2 separate regions of the Homo sapiens genome follow, and region 1 is linked to region 2. The links are contacts of gene promoters, found by promoter capture Hi-C in human tissues and cell types (Jung and others, 2019). All regions are on one chromosome and are shown on one strand. The core of a region is centred on a gene start or on the middle of the fragment in contact, and the rest is flanking DNA. Distances in the headings are between cores, read along the strand shown.

Evidence for each region. The method cuts DNA at HindIII sites, captures the fragments that hold promoters and counts their contacts. A contact is called where the count stands out against the background at its distance.
Region 1: a contact is called between the fragment with the promoter of MZF1 here and the fragment with the promoter of ZNF671 in region 2, in 1 of the 25 tissues and cell types used here (lymphoblastoid cells).

What each region holds. Positions count from the first base shown.
Region 1 is chr19:58,571,599-58,574,890 of GRCh38, forward strand. It overlaps MZF1 (myeloid zinc finger 1), which reads right to left and starts at 1,737. Exons shown (of 6, transcript NM_198055.2): 1 at 1,457-1,737. It overlaps MZF1-AS1 (MZF1 antisense RNA 1), which reads left to right. Exons shown (of 6, transcript NR_027334.2): 4 at 260-357; 5 at 980-1,225; 6 at 1,319-3,199. RefSeq lists enhancers at 442-1,303, 1,304-2,163, 1,532-1,621, 1,682-2,111. The HindIII fragment of the contact is 16,370 bases long and covers 1-3,292 here.
Region 2 is chr19:57,726,081-57,729,553 of GRCh38, forward strand. It overlaps ZNF671 (zinc finger protein 671), which reads right to left and starts at 1,544. Exons shown (of 4, transcript NM_024833.3): 1 at 1,311-1,544. The coding sequence starts at 1,448. RefSeq lists enhancers at 1,243-1,743, 1,261-1,700, 1,841-1,890 and a silencer at 1,697-1,922. The HindIII fragment of the contact is 7,784 bases long and covers 1-2,692 here.

The DNA.
Region 1 (3,292 bases), core at 487-2,986, 850 kb after region 2:
TCCCTTAGCCACCTGTATCCCTGGTCTTCTCTCCGCTTGGGCCTGTGCAAAGTCTCTGACAGTCTCCCTGCTCCAAACACAGGCTTTTTTTTCTTTTCTTTGAGACATGCTGTCAGTCAGTTGCCCAGGCTGAAGTGCAGTGGCGAGATCATGCGTCACTGCAGACTTGACCTCCCGGGCTCCAGAGATCGGCCTCCCAAGTAGCTGAGACAACAGGTGTGTGCCACGACATCCGGCTAATTTCTTAATTTTTCTGTAGGGATGGGATCTTACTATGTTGCCTAGGCTGTTCTTGAACTCCTGGGCTCAAGCAGATGATCCTCTTACCTTGACCTCCCGAAGTGCTGGGACTTACAGGTTTGTTCCACCATGCCAGCCCACAGGCTGTTTTTTAGGACTAGAAGACACTTCTCTCCCCTGTATCCTTCCCTTCTTCTACATGTGCAACCTCATTCCTGCGCTACAGCTCTCTCTTTACCAGGTGGATGGCACCTATACACCTACAGCCTGGGCATCAGCATCACTGCTGGCGTCTCCCCCTACCCAACGCCAGCCCTTACTTCACCTTCTATTCTCTCATCTACTTCGATGTGGCTCCTCATTTGGGCCCCACCATCATTCCCCTCCCTGCTTGGAAGCCTCACTCCACCTAATCCTCCATGTCAACCTGTGCAGTCACTTGTATGGCTCAGCTCCCAGGCAGCACCCTCTCTCCCTACTCAGCCCCATCTTCTAAGCCCAACATCACACTACGCAATGCCCCATCTCAGCTTCCTGATTTAGCTGGGGTTGGAAGGGGATGGGGGAGCTTCGCAATGGGTGGGGGGGCGGCAAAGGCTCCAAGACTGCCGGAACAGGAGCCTGCAAGGAAGTCCCGAGACTCTGATTCCGCCCATCTTCAGATCACTGTGCCTTCGAGAACTTGTTTCCCCATTTGCAAGTGGGGCTGACCTCCCTCCTCGCGCTGTTCCTTCTGCAGCTGCGGCTTTAGGAAGGAATCTGCGTTTATGAAGGGGATGGCACCGCAGAATCATTCCCCCGTGGGTGGCATCGATTTCGAGGGCCGCCTCATCCTGGGGGCCAAGCCTCCACTCTTCAAGGTGCCAAGTCAACCTGAAACCCTGGGAGAGACTTGGGTCATAGCCAAGATGGCAGGTACCTACGGAGGGTCCCGAAATACACTTCCCAGAAGTCCAGGCGGCAACTTCCGCTCCAGGGTGCCAAGGTAGGTCCAGACGACGCCTAGGCAACCGGGGGCGGGGCTCCCAAAGCCTGTCGTCGTGGCAACGAGTAGTGATTGACAAGCCTCTCGCTCTAGCCCTGGGCGCTCCCGCAAGGACTGCCCGGATTCGTTCCCCGCGCTTCCGGTCTCACTGGGGAGCCGGAATCCCCGAGTCTGCAGCCACCGCCCCCGTCCACACGATAGCCCTCCCGGTTAAGAGGACCCCGCCCTCACCTCTGCGCTCAGCGGGCCGCTCCGCGCTCCTGAGCACGCGCAGTCTTCGACTTCCCCCTCCCGCTGGACTACGTCTCCCAGGATGCTCCGCGCACCAGCTCGAGCGCCTCCTTGCCCTTCCCCCACCCTCGTCCCCGTTTCTACACCCTCTCCTCCCTTCCCCTAGCGGTGGTCGCAATGATCAGGTCATACTCCTGGCCGCTTCTTCCCATGCTCCCCGCCTCGAATCCGTGCGTCGGCATGCGCAAGCCTCTCAGGTACAACAGACGGCAGCACCGCCTACCAGATCGCGCATGCCCCCCACCACGTTTTCCTCACTTCTCTACGGGCCTTCCTGAGATTAGCAGGATCCTGCACCAATCACGGCCGTCATTAGAACTCCGTCGGTGCCCCACCGCGTCTCCATGGCAACTCCCTACAGGAAGGGGCCTCTGCTACTTCCTAGACCGCAAAATGGAGAAAGGCTTGGCCCGATGCTTTCCGGCAGATGTAGTCAGCAGGCCCTTCGTGTGTACGTGCGCGCGCGGCGCGATGACGTTCCTCTGTGATCATGGGCGAGGGGCGGGCCCTGAACGTCTCCATGGTAACCTGGGGACACGACTCGACATCGCCTGGGTAACCCGGAGACGCGGCGGGCGTTGAAAATGCAATGGGGCATGTGGGATGAAGAGGTGGGGAAGGGTACTGGGGCAGAGAGATGCCGATCGATAGAAACAGCGAGGAGAGACGGAGAGAGACCAGAGACTCAAGGGCAAAGAGAGACGAAGGACCGGCGGGAGGAAGAGAGAGAGAGACAGAGAGACAGACTCACAGACTGGGAGGACCGGAGACTCGACGCGAGGAGAGACAGTGAAAATAAGTGAACAAACATAGAGACACGGGTCCAAGTTATAAGAGGGCTGAGTGGATCAGAGGGTCAGGGCCGGGCAAACAGGTGTCAGAACAGTTAGCAAGAGAGAGGCAGATCAGAAAGGGATGCAGATGAAAGAGACACAAAGAAGGAAACGCAGAATGGGTTCACAGAGACAAGAAATGCAGATATCCAGACTCAAGAGGTAGACAAGAAGGGAGAGGGACAGAAACAAGAAGGGAGAAAAGGGACAGAAATTAGAGATACAGTAAGATGGATTGACAGTTTTCGAAGACCTAGAGAAAGATGACAGCACGAAGAGAGACAGGGAGAATCCGAGGTAAAACTGTTAGGAAAACTTAGGAGTCCAGATGCTGTCCAGTTATATGCTACCCTGTACAGGTTGATAGGTTGCAAATGCTTTCTGTCCAGTGTATCGCTTTGTAGCTCACTAAGCAGTTTTGTATCCAACTTTGTGCTTTTATTTCAGTGTTTTTCTTTTTCTTTCTTTCTTTTTTTTTTTTTTTTTTTTGACGGAGTCTCGCTGTTGCCAGACTGGAGTGCAGTGGCACGATCTCGGCTCACTGCAACCTCCGTCTCCCAGGTTCAAGCGATTCTCCTGCCTCAGCCTCCCGAGTAGCTGGGACTGCAGGCTGCTCCACCACACCCGGCTGATTTTTGTATTTTTAGTAGAGATGGGGTTTTACCATGTTGGCCAGACTGGTCTTGACCTCCAGACCTCTGGTGATCCGCCCACCTCGGCCTCCCAAATTGCTGGAATTACAGGTGTGAGCCACCGCGGCCGGCCAGTGTTTATTCTTCCTTTCCTGTCTTCCTAGAATCATCTTGCTGCTTCCCTCAGTACGGTAAATAAATCTTTTGACACATGCTCACTGAGAGTCATGTTTTTAACTGTTTTGAAATTATATTTGGCAGTCTGAAGGGAACCTGTTCTCCGGGCTAGGGGACAAACAGGGAAAAAGAAA
Region 2 (3,473 bases), core at 294-2,793:
CACTCCCCCGCCCCCACCCCACCCCTCCCACCTCCCCACCCCACCCCACCCCTCCCACCTCCCCACCCCCGTCTCTACTATAAATACTAAAATTAGCCAGGGGTGGTTGTGGGCACCTGTAATCTCAACTACTTGGGAGGCTGAGGCGGGAGAATCTCTTGAACCCGGGAGGTAGAGGTTGCAATAAGCCACTGCATCCCACCCTGGGCGACAGAGTGAGACTTCGTCTCAAAAAAAATAAAAAAAATAAATAAACTAAAACTAAAAGAAAACACACAAAATGAGGGTGAGATAATCAGATAGTAGCAATAGCACACCACCCATCGTTGCCATCCCAGGCCAAACTCCTCATACCCTACAGCTCTCTCCTCCTGCAAACACTGAAAAGAACCCTTTCAAATGGCAGGACCCTTCTCTTCTGGGGGGAGTCTCAAGAATGCCCACTCCCTCTTCCCTGCCCTGCAGTCCCAGCCTTCTCATCTCTTACCCCAGAGATATGAAATAACATACTTAAGACTGCCCCACTTAAATCTGACCTCCTGGCCTTGACCTACTCCAGACCGCTCCCTTCACCCCAAAGATATTCTAAGCCCAGCCCCTTCCCCACAACTTCAGACCTTCCTCTCTAGTTGCCTAAGTGAGGAAGCCTCCACTCTGAGACATCTCAAAGTCACCATTCCAAAATCCAAACGTTCATGGAAAAACAACAAAAACACCTTGCTCTTTCATGCCTTACTTTCAGTCATAGCTGCATATGATGGAGCAGAAAATCCTGTTGGTTTCAAATTTAAAACCTACCCAGAATATGATCACTTCTACCCACTCACCTGCCATTACTCTTGGTACATCCACCACCAAAGCATTCCTGGAATCCACTGCAGTAGCCTCCTTACCGGTCTCCTCGTATCCATCCTCGCAGTCCCCACCCCAAACTAATGTTCTCCCCTGAGCAAATTTCGAGACACTTAAAATCCCAGCTAAGATCACGTCCTTCTATTCAAAACCCTCAGTTAATCTCAACGCCCTCAGAATGAAGCGACAACTTCTCAGCCTGCCATTCCAGTCACAGTTCCTCAAACTCTGCTCTGTGTTGATGAGAACCCTGTCTCCCAAATGTTTGGGGGTCAGCAGCACCCCCGAGCCTTTACCTGCGCCGTCCCCTCCGCCCGTAACTCTCCCACACCCACCCACACCGAGATAGGACCCCGCCCCAAGAGTGCGTCGCTGTCCTGGGACACAGGGGCTGCAGGCACTTTACGATTCGGAGTCGGAGAAAGGGTGACTGAGGGCCCGGAGGACGCAGCACCCACCCGCGCGGAGTCCGTTAGCTCCGCCATAGGACCGTGGGCGCGGACAGCTGCCGGGAGCGGCAGGCGTCTCGATCGGGGACGCAGGCACTTCCGTCCCTGCAGAGCATCAGACGCGTCTCGGGACACTGGGGACAACATCTCCTCCGCGCTTTCCCAACACCTCCACCTGCGGCCCACACAAGCGTTACAGAACCCCGGCCAGGGACAGCCTGACAGAAACAAAATGTCCGCTACAAGGAGGAGCCGGAAGTCCCGCCCACGCACCCCCCGCAGGCACTGAAACACCCCTCTCCTGGGCCCTCATTGGGTATGCAACGTATAGGTTTGTGGGTAGAGTGTGGTTCCCACTGAGCTATCCTTCAAGGCAGGGGATTCTCGGCCTGGGCTCTTGGGAAAACTCGAAGTAGGAGGGCCAAGTTGTTTGGGAAAAGTAACCCGAGTTTCAAAGGGCTGACAGGACTTCCGTCCTCTTTTTTTTTTTTTTTTTTTTTTTTGAGACAGAGTCTCGCTCTGTCTCCCAGGCTGCAGTGCAGTGGCGCGATCTCGGCTGACTGCAACCTCCGCCTCCCGGGTTCAAGCGATTCTCCTGCCTCAGCCTCCCAAGTAATTGGGACTACAGGGGCCCGCCACCACGCCAGGCTAATTTTAGTACTTTTAGCAGAGTACGGGATTTCACCATGTTGGCCAGGCTGGTCTCGAACTCCTGACTTTGTGATTTGCCTGCTTCGGCCTCCCAAAGTGCTGGGATTACAGGAGTGAGCCATGGTGCCCGGCTGACTTCTGTCCTCTTAAAAGGCCTGGACCTAGATTCCCTGGAGTGTAGTATGCACCGATCGCAGAAATGTTGAGACATTTCAGATGTTCCCCAAAGCTGCAAAACTAAATAGATACACCACACCACAATGTCTCTTTGCGTACACTCACAGCTAGAAGCTAATAACTATTACCTTGTTGCTTTTTAAATATGTGTGCACTCAAGCTTTACAGTAACTTTTGTGAGCTTCAGTTTGGTCAGAGACGGAAGAGAAAATATTCCAAACAAGGCCTTGGAGTGGAAGAAGGAAGAGGGATGATGTGGAGTCTCCCTGAAACCAGTGGACAGATTTCTTCAGAAAACTCTTCCTGCCTGGGTAATCAGTGATGTCTCCATCACAGCAAAACACAGTGCAATTACCATTTAACCTGTCATTGTCATTGTAAGTATGGTGTCTGTGTTAGGAGGTGAGATTATCCCCGGGGGAAAAATCCTGACAGCTATTAATAATGATTCCGTAGTTATTTGAAGATAATGAAAGAAATTGCTCTAAGGAAATATCTGTGATAGATGGACAAAGTTAAGATCTCAGTAAAGTTTGAGCCTGAATACTAAAGTATAAGTGAAAGAATGAAGTTAAGCATATGGTTGTGTTGTGATCTTGACCACACTTTGTCAACAAAATGTGACTCTTTTTTCCTGAAAATGCTGAGCAATTGTAAAGAAGATATCAGAATGGTAAAAATCAACAGTGAAGTTGTGCTGTCTTGATAATTCACTGTTAAAATACACATCCAAGGAACACATACGAGCTCTCAGTAGGTGTTTTTCAAATGTGTTAGTAGCATGAAAGACATCACTAATAAAATTTCCAAGATTCCTATACATACAGGACATGTCCTGCATATAATGATTTTTGTCCTGCATCACCTTTTGACTTTGTCACAATACCCTAAATAAATATTCTAAAGAAGGCAACAGTCTTAAAGAAAAGAATTTTCAACCCGGAATTTCATATCCAGCCAAACTAAGCTTCATAAGTGAAGGAGAAATAAAATACTTTACAGACAAGCAAATGCTGAGAGATTTTGTCACCACCAGGCCTGCCCTAAAAGAGCTCCTGAAGGAAGCACTAAACATGGAAAGGAACAACTGGTACCAGCCACTGCAAAAACATGCCAAATTGTAAAGACCATCAAGGCTAGGAAGAAACTGCATCAACTAATGAGCAAAATAACCAGCTAACATCATAATGACAGGATCAAATTCACACATAACAATACTAACCTTAAATGTAAATGGGCTCAATGCTCCAATTAAAAGGCACAGACTGGCAAATTGGATAAACAGTCAAGACCCATCTGTGTGCTGTATTCAGGAAACCCATCTCACATGCAGAGACACACATA